Linked DNA regions of Homo sapiens: region 2 is linked to region 1. The links are contacts of gene promoters, found by promoter capture Hi-C in human tissues and cell types (Jung and others, 2019). All regions are on one chromosome and are shown on one strand. Each heading gives the region's core, a stretch centred on a gene start or on the middle of the fragment in contact. The rest is flanking DNA. Distances are from core to core; before and after follow the strand shown.

What was found. The method cuts DNA at HindIII sites, captures the fragments that hold promoters and counts their contacts. A contact is called where the count stands out against the background at its distance.
Region 2: a contact is called between the fragment with the promoter of CAMKK2 here and the fragment with the promoter of POP5 in region 1, in 1 of the 25 tissues and cell types used here (spleen).

What each region holds. Positions count from the first base shown.
Region 1 is chr12:120,579,356-120,584,116 of GRCh38, reverse strand. It overlaps POP5 (POP5 ribonuclease P/MRP subunit), which reads left to right and starts at 2,715. Exons shown (of 5, transcript NM_015918.4): 1 at 2,715-2,774; 2 at 2,860-3,002; 3 at 4,194-4,343; 4 at 4,520-4,603; 5 at 4,705-4,761. The coding sequence starts at 2,755. The HindIII fragment of the contact is 9,700 bases long and covers 1-4,761 here.
Region 2 is chr12:121,293,524-121,298,284 of GRCh38, reverse strand. It overlaps CAMKK2 (calcium/calmodulin dependent protein kinase kinase 2), which reads left to right and starts at 1,576. Exons shown (of 17, transcript NM_001270485.2): 1 at 1,576-1,647. RefSeq lists a silencer at 891-2,040. The HindIII fragment of the contact is 15,221 bases long and covers 1-4,761 here.

The DNA.
Region 1 (4,761 bases), core at 1,466-3,965:
AAGACAGTCTTAAAAATCAGTCTCAAAAAACAAACAAAACAAAAAAAACAAAAACAAAAAAAGGGCTTACTATGCACTCGCTGTGCCAGGCATTTTGTCCACATGACCCCGCTTAAACTTCATATCCACCCACGAGGGAGGAACCATTGTTATCCCATTGCACAGATGAGGAAACTAAGATCTGAGACATGAATTAACCCTCCTGACAGCACCTGGCCGGGCCAGTAAATGACGGAGTAGCGAATCGAACCTCCATCTGTCGTCTCTCCATCTTATTACACTAAATGGACGAGTGAAATCCTGCACGGGAGAGCACCAACCGTGTTGACCAGAACAAGGAGTCAGCTGGCTTTGGGTTCGAATTCTGATCCTGCTCCTAACTGGATACGAGGCTTTGGTCTGAGCCCCAACTGCATCTATAAAATGGGCGAAGCATTGCTGTTGAAATGAAGGCTGGGAGGAGTGAAATTTCTATGAGGGGTGGAGCGCTCAGGAGTTGGGGGTGTCTTGCTCTCTCCGCGCACTGCGGACCTCTGGCGCCCCCTGTTGGCCAAAGGAGGATGTCGCAGACACTTTCTGGTGAAAAGTTGTTCTTGGGTGGGGAGTGCCGTCACTGTCACTGGTCCCTTGGCAGGGCCACGGCGTTCCCTCTTCCTATTCTTTTCTTCCCTACCTTCCCCCACATCCCTCCTTTAAGGTGGCCAAGAAGAGTGGGAGATGGGAAAATTCAGAACTCATTCCAGATCTTGCAAAAATAGGTTGTGAAAGCTGCCCCCATTACGGACCTCACAGGACCAGCCAAGGCCAAGACACTTCTACAAATAATCAGGGATGGGCATAAAGACTAAGCTACAAAGCCATGCATCAAAGTATTGGGTATAACAAGAAAATCTAGAAATAATGTAAACGTCTACCAAAGGGATACTGACCAACTTCACAATGGTACGTCCAAACAATGCAATACTGCACAGCTAAAAAACAGTATTGTCGCTGAAGAGCTGACATGAAAATATAGCCAAATGGCCAGGCGTGGTAGCTCACGCCTGTAATCCCAGCACTTTGGGAGGCCGAGGTGGGTGGATCACCTGAGGTCAGGAGTTCAAGACCAGCCTGGCCAACATGGGGAAACCCTGTCCCTACTAAAAATACAAAAATTAGCCAGTTGTGGTGGCACACACCTGTAGTCCCAGCTACTTGGGAGGCTGAGGCAGGAGAATCGCCTGAATCCAGGAGGCAGAGGTTGCAGTGAGCTGAGATCGTGCTCCAGCTTGGGCAACAGAGTGAGACTCCGTCTCAAAAAACTAAATAAATAAATACAAAAATTAGCTGGTCGTGGTGGCAGGTGCCTGTAATCCCAGCTACTCGGGAGGCTGAGGCAGGAGAATCGCTTGAACTCAGGAGGCAGAGGTTGCAGCCAGCCTCCTGGCTGCATTTATATAAAGTTTAAGAACAGGCAAAATTAATCTAGCAGGGTAGAAGTGGTAATAGTGGCTGATAGCAGTAAGCAATTTGACTGGAAGAGGGCTCAGGGAACCTTCTGGGATACTGGAAATGCTCTTTATTTTAATCTTGGAGGTGGTTATAGAAGTCTATCCATATGTAAAAATTCATTGAGATGAATACACTTAAGAATATGTACTTTATGTAATACCCCATAAGACATTTTTTTTAAAATACTTAAAAATAAAAGAAAAAACATAATTTAACAGAGGGCATAGTTCTCAAGCTGTTTTCTCTGTCTCAGGACCCCTTTACACACGTTACTGAGGGTGCCCAAGAGCTTTTAGTTTTGTGGGTTATATTTACTATGGACATTAAAGTTGAGAAACGTTTAAAAAACAATACACAATTCCTAGAGCAGTGACGTCATCACGTCAAGCAGCCTCTGGAAAACTTGACTGTTCACTCAGAGAGAATGAAAAAGACAAGTAACATCTTAGCATTATTATGAAAGTAATTTTGACTTCGGGGACTCCCAAATCGAGTGAATTTAGGAAATCTCAGTGGTCCCCAGACGGCACTTTGAGAACCACTGGCGCAGGGAGAAAATGACAGAAGAAAACACACTACACGACAACAGTTATTCTCTCTCAGTGCTGGGATTATAATTTATTTGCTTCTTTGTGCTTTTCTGTCAAAAAAAAAAGGTAAACGGAAATGGAAAATACAATGACCACGTATTGTTTCTGCGAGCAAAAAACGAGACGGCACACTCGCCTCCCTAAGATTGCTGAAAGGCCCAAACAGCAATAGCATATTTAGCTGTATGGAAGAATTAAACTGAGCTCAAACCTGAAAATAAAAGTCCGATTTCCCGTTTGTCAATGCCTGGGCTGTGAGGTGCAGGGTCTTGCCCTCAAAAGCTCCACCGTTCACCTTGGGGAGAGAATATACTCGCATACATAACTGTGGTGCAAGGTTCCCAGGGCCCCAAGGGTAGCGGCTACATCCTACACACTATTGTAAACTTCAGTGTGCAACAGAACCATCCATTACAGCTGCAAGGCGCTCCATCCCGGGGTTCAGCCCTCAAACTAGTCAGTGACCCTCCGCAGGACGCATGCGCGCTTACAAACGCAGTTGGGCGGGGCTTGAGAGAGCTGACAGACTTCGGCCTCTCAACTTTCTAGCTCCGCCCTAATATCCTGTCTCCTTCTCTGAATGGCTGAAAGGCTGCGGAAGCAAGCTTCCCATTGGCAGCGGACAGAATTCACATCCGGTTTGCACGCCGGACCGGAGAGCGCGGAGGCAGCCATGGTGCGGTTCAAGCACAGGTAAGCATTCCCTTCCAGACCCTCCCAGTGCCTTGCTGGGTCCTCGCGGCCCCGCTAGTGTCCACCTTCCTCTCGCCTGCCGCAGGTACCTGCTCTGCGAACTGGTGTCTGACGACCCCCGCTGCCGCCTAAGCCTCGATGACCGAGTTCTGAGCAGCCTCGTACGGGACACGATCGCCAGGGTGCACGGAACTTTCGGCGCAGCCGCCTGCTCCATCGGCTTCGCGGGTGCAAGGGCGCTGGGGGAAGAGGGGAACCCGGGAGGATGGCGGGATGTGGAGGGGGCAGGCGCCGGAGGAAGAAAGAAGGGGCACGAGTGGCCAAGCCCGTGCACCGTTTTTTGTAAGGTATCTCTTTAAGCGCCTGGGACCCCAAGCGAGAGTCCGAAATTAGCAGAGCGCTAAAAGGAGGGGCCCGAAGGCAGTGGGGCTTTGAGCTAGAAGCCTCTTTTTACCTGCTTGACAGGTAATTTCTGTAATTGGTTGTGATTGAATTTGATAGGGTAGAGAATTAAATGAGGGAAGCTGTGTATACTTCCTAGTAAGAGCTATTATATGACCGATTACATTAACATCATATGGAAAAAAATTGTCAAAAGTACTCCGGGAAAGCCCTTAAATAGTTGGTAAAGTACAGAACACATGATTGTCAATATATGTAAATACAGGATGAGCTAGGACAGAGGGGCCCTTCTTTCACACCACTTAAATTAGTTCCCACTTTAACCTTGTTTGAGATTGACTTCTGGAGAGTTAAATGCAGATAGACTTAACTCTCCTAAGTCAGGTGAGACTGAGAGCTGACTGCTACAATAATTACGGAGCCCAAATGCAGTAAAACAGCCTGTTTTTCAGGCAAGGGTTTTGTGGGGGTTTTTCCTAAATTAAAACGGATCGCCTCCTACCTGCTCCTATTTATTGAATTAACTAGTGAATTAGAAAGCATTTTCAATTCTAAATTCATTCACCAGTTCTGAGTGGTGTGCAACACAGTGGGTGTTTTGGCTTTTCTCTTTTACTCGCTGATAGATCTACGTGCCACTTGCCTACAACATACTTTTGGCACATAGTAGGCTCTGTTACTCCAAAGTTTTCCTTTTTTCGAGACAGTCTGGCTGTTGCCCAGGCTGCTGGAGTGCAGCAGCGAGATCGGGGGTCATTGCTGCCTCTGCCTCCTGGGTTCAGGCGATTCTCATGCCTCAGCCTCCTGAGTGGCTGGAATTACAGGTGCGCACCACCACACCCAGCTAATTTTTGTATTTTTAGTAGAGACGGGGTTTCATCATGTTGGCCAGGCTGGCCTCGAACTCCTGACTTAAAGTGATCTGCCCGCCTCAGCCTCCCAAAGTGCTGGGATTACAGGCGTGAGCCACCACACAGAGCAAAAGTTTTCCAAAATGATTTTTCTTTCCTGTTGTAGTTCGATATCTCAATGCCTATACTGGAATAGTGCTACTTCGATGCAGAAAAGAATTCTATCAGCTTGTGTGGTCAGCTCTTCCCTTCATCACATACTTGGAGAACAAAGGACACCGTTACCCATGCTTTTTCAACACATTACATGTGGGAGGTAGGAGTGAGGTGGTATGGCTACTGATTTTCAATTGGTGACACGTTCACAGTTCAGTCTAAACTGGTGGGTGGGTCTTGCTGCTGTCCCGCTAACAAGACACTTCCCCCTACCTCTGAAAGTCTGTAAGGTCGAGATCTTTCACAAGCTGTTGACCACAGTAACTCATATGCCAGGTACAATAAGAACATGTCAGAAGTTCCTAATTCAGTACAACAGGAGACAGCTGTTGATCTTGTTGCAGAACTGCACTGATGAAGGTAAGCAACACTAGCCCAGTGCCCACTGAGCAGTGACTGACCTTAAGCTGAAGAAATCACTCCCAAAGATATCTTTCATCCCTGTTATCTGCCTTCTCCAGGAGAGCGGGAAGCTATCCAGAAGTCTGTGACAAGAAGCTGCTTATTAGAGGAGGAGG
Region 2 (4,761 bases), core at 327-2,826, 720 kb before region 1:
GCGAGCCGTGATCGTGCTACTGCACTCCAGCCTGGGCAACACAGAGAGACCCTGTCTCAAAACAAACAAACAAACAAACAAACAAACAAACAAAAAAAACAAAGAAAAAAAAATGGGAGTGGGCCGGGCGCGGTGACTCACACCTGTAATCCCAGCACTTTCGGAGGCCAAGGCGGGTGGATCACGAGGTCAGGAATTCAAGATTAGCCTGGACAACATGGTGAAACCCCATCTCTACGAAAAATACAAAAATTAGCCAAGTATGGTGGCCGGCGCCTGTAATCCCAGCTACTCGGGAGACTGAGGCAGAGAACTGCTTGAACCTGGGAGGCAGAGGTTGCAGTGATCCGAGATCGCGTCACTGCACTCCAGCGTGGGCGACAGAGCGAGACTCCGTTTCAGAAAAGAAAAAAAAAAAAAAAAAAAAGGGAGTCGGGGTGGAGCTCTCATTGGCTCGTTGCATGTGAGTGTCCCTACGGCCTAGAAATACAAGAGAAGCACATCGGAACGGGCTGGAAATCCACCCAGTTAACTAGAGGGCTTTGAACCTTTTATTAACTTGGAGGTTGACTCTCCTGTCAACTCGATTCCCTTTTGGCTGTTTGGCAGGGTCAGTGAGACATCCCCTGGGTCGCTCGACCCCGTAGGACGGTTCAGGGAGCCCTCCAGGTCTTCGTTTCTCCTCTTCCCCGCACAGTGCTGTTATCCAGCTGGGGGATCCAACGCACACTTAAGGCTCCAGCAAAGTAAGTGCCAAAAAGGGGAGAATGGGAAGAATATGCTGTATTTCACAAAAAGCATCTAAGTAGCCATCTGGAAAAGCCAGAATGAACTTCAATGGTGCATCCAGGTGGGCTGGGGATGGGAGAGGAACGCCTTCCCCCAGCCTTTAGGGCCGGCCCTGAGCAAGTGGTCAGTCGGCAGGCAGCTGCGGAAGGGGGCTCCCCCGAGTCGGTGGTGGCCCAAAGTCCAGGCCGCATCCACCGCCCGGCGCCTAGCGCAGGGGCAGCAGCCGGGTCGCCACAGGAGGGGCCCCGGGTGTTCTTGCCGGCTTGGGGGAACTTTCCCAGGGTCAGCCCGGAGGCGCCCTGCAGCCCCGGCATTTGGCTAAACAAAGCAAGCGCTGCCGGCGCGGCCCGCCCGAGGGCGCCGCGGGAAGAACCTGGGCAGGTGCGCGCCGCGGGCGAGCGGGTACAAAGTTGCGGCGCCACCTCCTGCGCTCCGCGCCCCTCCAGGCTCTCCTCCCAGCCGCCTCCGATCCTCCCGGCCGGGCCTCTCTTCCCCCGTTCTTCGCCTCCTCCCTTTCTGCTCCTTGCCCTTCGCCTCTTCGCTACTTTCGTCTTTGCAGGCTCCCGCCTCCCCACCCCTCCCCGGCGCAGGGCCGAGCCGGCGGGGGCGCGCAGGGGGCGGTGCGCGGCGGGCGCGGGCGGTTCCGCTTTCGGGTTTCCCGCCGCCGTGGCCAATCCCCGCGCTGCCCGGGGCGGCGACGCGCCCAAGCCGAGCCGGGCGGCTCCTCCCGCCCCCGCCCCCCGCGCGCCCGCCGCCCGGGCGGAGGAGAGGAGCGCGCGGCCGCGCAGAGCAAGCTGAGCCGAGCCGAGCCGAGCTGGGGGCGCAGAGCGCGGGAGGCGGCGGCGGCGCGGAGCCCAGGTGAGCTGGCGGTAGCCGGGCCCGGGGCAAGGGACGCAGCCGCCGCGGCCCCGGGCGCCCGCTCCGTTTCCCTCTCGAGGCGGGGGACCGCCGCCGGCATGGCACACAAAGCCCGGAGGCTGGCCTGGGGCTCCCAACACGGAGGGACCCCACGTGCGCCTCCCCACGCCCCGCCACGTGGAGGGACACGGTCCCCGACAGCCCTTCCCCCGCGTCCTCTGGGCGCCCTGGGCCTCGGGATGGCCTCCTCGGCTGGGCCGCGCCCTGTCCGGGTGGCAGGGGCGGTCCTGGAGTTTGGAACCGGGGTCACCGGGGGCCGGGTCCGTCAGGGTTCGTGGAGGCGGCCTAGGCCCAGCCCCTCGCGTTTGACAGGTGGGGAAATCTGGAGCGTTCCGGGGAAGAGAGGACCAGCGGACTTGGAGCACCCCCACCCCGCAGCCTGCCTGTCTCGGGGCAAACCCAGGCCCTGGTGGCTTGGACACCAGGTGGCAGGACCCTAGGCCAGCAGTTGTGGGGACCTAGGGGACCTTTGGCTGTCTTCGGTCTGCCCTTTGACCACCCCCACCGCACCTCTTCTCTCAGCCGGAGCCTCACAGGCTTGGTCCTTCTGACCTAAATTCACCTCGGGGTTGCAGTATGCTGTGAATGCGGAGAGGCGTCCGCCTGACTCTCAGGGACACTGGACCCAGCCCCTCTCAGCATTGGGGCTCTGTGCCTGGGGTGCCACCCGACCCAGCCTTGAGCTTTTCCTGGCTTTCCCCCAGCCCCTGCACTGCCTAGCTGGGGAAGTGGGTGCTTTCACAGCTCTGCCAGCCTGCCCTCCTGGCCACTCTCACTTAGTGCTGGACAGGATGCAGCTCAGCCCCTCCGATCTCCCCGAGAAGGCTGAGCTTTGGGGAGGGCGTCTCAGTGCTATCAGCAAGAGAGGGATACCTGGCCTCCGGATGGGACCTGCAGCGTCCATCTCCCTACAGGCTACTTTTACCTTCCCCAGCCTGGTGTTTGGAGTCTCCACGCAGGGGATAGAAACTTCAGGTGCCCTAGAGCTGTGCTGCCATTTACCACTCCCCCTCCCCTAGCTCTGCCCCCAGAGGAGAGAGAAGAGGATGGCTTTATGTCCCCATAAGCTCCTTTGTTCCTTGGAGGAGGCGGGGGCTGCAACAAGGGGAGGGCTTTGGGGGAGTTAGCCACCCTCTTCCCTAATCACCCCACAAAAACATGCAGTTTCAGAATAAATAGTGTGCATGCCATGCAAATGCAGCTTTAGGGCAAGCCCCACATACCCCTTCCAGACTGCTGCTCATACACCCTTCCTATGGAGGAAGCAGGCATTGGTGACACACACCCTTCCTATGGAGGAAGCAGGCATTGGTGATGAGGACGCAAAACATATTTTTGTAATGAAGAGTAATAGCCATCATTTGATGAGCCCCTAACTTGGATAATAATAAGAATACTTATTTATTTATTTTGAGACGGAGTCTCTGTTGCCCAGGGTGGAGTGCAGTGGCACAATCTTGGCTCACTGCAACCTCCGCCTCCCGGGTTCAAGCGATTCTCATGCCTCAGCCTCTCCAGTAGCTGGGATTACAGGCGCCCACCACCATGCCTGGCTAATTTCTGTATTTTTAGTAGAGAAGGGGTTTCACCATGTTGGTCAGGCTGGTCTTGAACTCCTTACCTCAAGTGATCCGCCTACGTCAGTCTCCCAAGTGCTAGGATTACAGGCATGAGCTGCCACCTGGCCCTGGACAATAATAATAATAACAGTATTAAAAACTAACATCTATTGAGTTCTTGCTGCCTGCCAGATTCTGTGCTATGTGTTACATGCATTATCTCATTTAATGCCTACCAAATCCTACAACGTAGGGAATTTTAACCCCATAGTAGAGATTAGGAGACTGAGGTTTACAGAAATCCTGCAGTGTTGCTAGGATTTAGCCCCATTTTATAGAAGGGCTCAGAGAAGTTAAGTAACTTGCTCAGGGTCACACAGCCAGTGCAGGCATGTCAGGCCTTAGAACCTTTGTGCACCTGTTCAAGAGCAGAGACCCTGGCAAGGCTGCCCTGAGCTTCTTGAGGAGCCCAGGAGTTTGTTTTGTTTTGTTTATTCACTACATCAGTGTTTGCCGATGCAGCTCTATGCAGGGTCTGTAGTACTGCCCATCCTTAGATATGGCTAGTGGGCTGGTAGCTAAATATAGTCACTAATAACAATGCACTAGTTCTCATCCGGGGGTGGTCCCACCCTCCTGGCAGGGATTTGGGAAAGTGTGGGGGCGACTTTTGGTTGTCAAAATGATGCTAAGCACTCCTGGCTTTTAGTGGGCGGGAGTCAGGGATGCCTACTAAAGTGTCCTGTAGGCAGGCCAGGGCCACGACATAAAGAATCACCCTCCCCTGGCTGGGCGTGGTGGCTCACGCTTGTAATCCCAGCACTTTGGGAGGCCGAGGCAGGAGGATCACCTGAGGTCAGGAGTTCGAGACCAGCCTGGCCAACATGGTGAAACCCCATCTCTACTAAAAATACAAAAATTAGCTGGGCGTGGTGGCACACACCTGTAATCCCAGCTACTTGGGAGGCTGAGGCAGGAGAATCACTTGAACCTGGAAGGCGGAGGTTGCAGTGTGCTGAGATCGTGCCATTGCACTCCAGCGTGGGGCACAAGAAGGAGACTTCCTCTCAAAAAACAAACAAAAAACAAAAAAAAATCACCCTCCCCCAAATGCCAGCAGTGCCACTGTTGAGAAACACCACAAGGAATGAGTGCTGTTGTGATCGAAGGAGCACAGGGCACTGAGGGTTCTGGAGAAATCTCCTCAGACTGGTGTGAATCTGGGAGGCTCCCTGAAGGAGGTGTCATTTGTGCAGAGCCTTGAAGGATGGGCCAGAAATGGGAGATGGGATGGGAGTAGGAGGGGAAGGGGATAGGGTGGGGTGACCTAGCAGGGAACTTTGTGCAGTAGCCGGGGGTTTCCTCTTTGAGAACCTCATCCTAGATGGAAGATGAGTGGCCAGACACCACTCTCAGGGGAGAGGACCAGGCCAAGTGGGGCAGGCCAAGCCTGTTTTCAAGGCATTTTGGCTCAAATTTTAACATGGGCCACAGA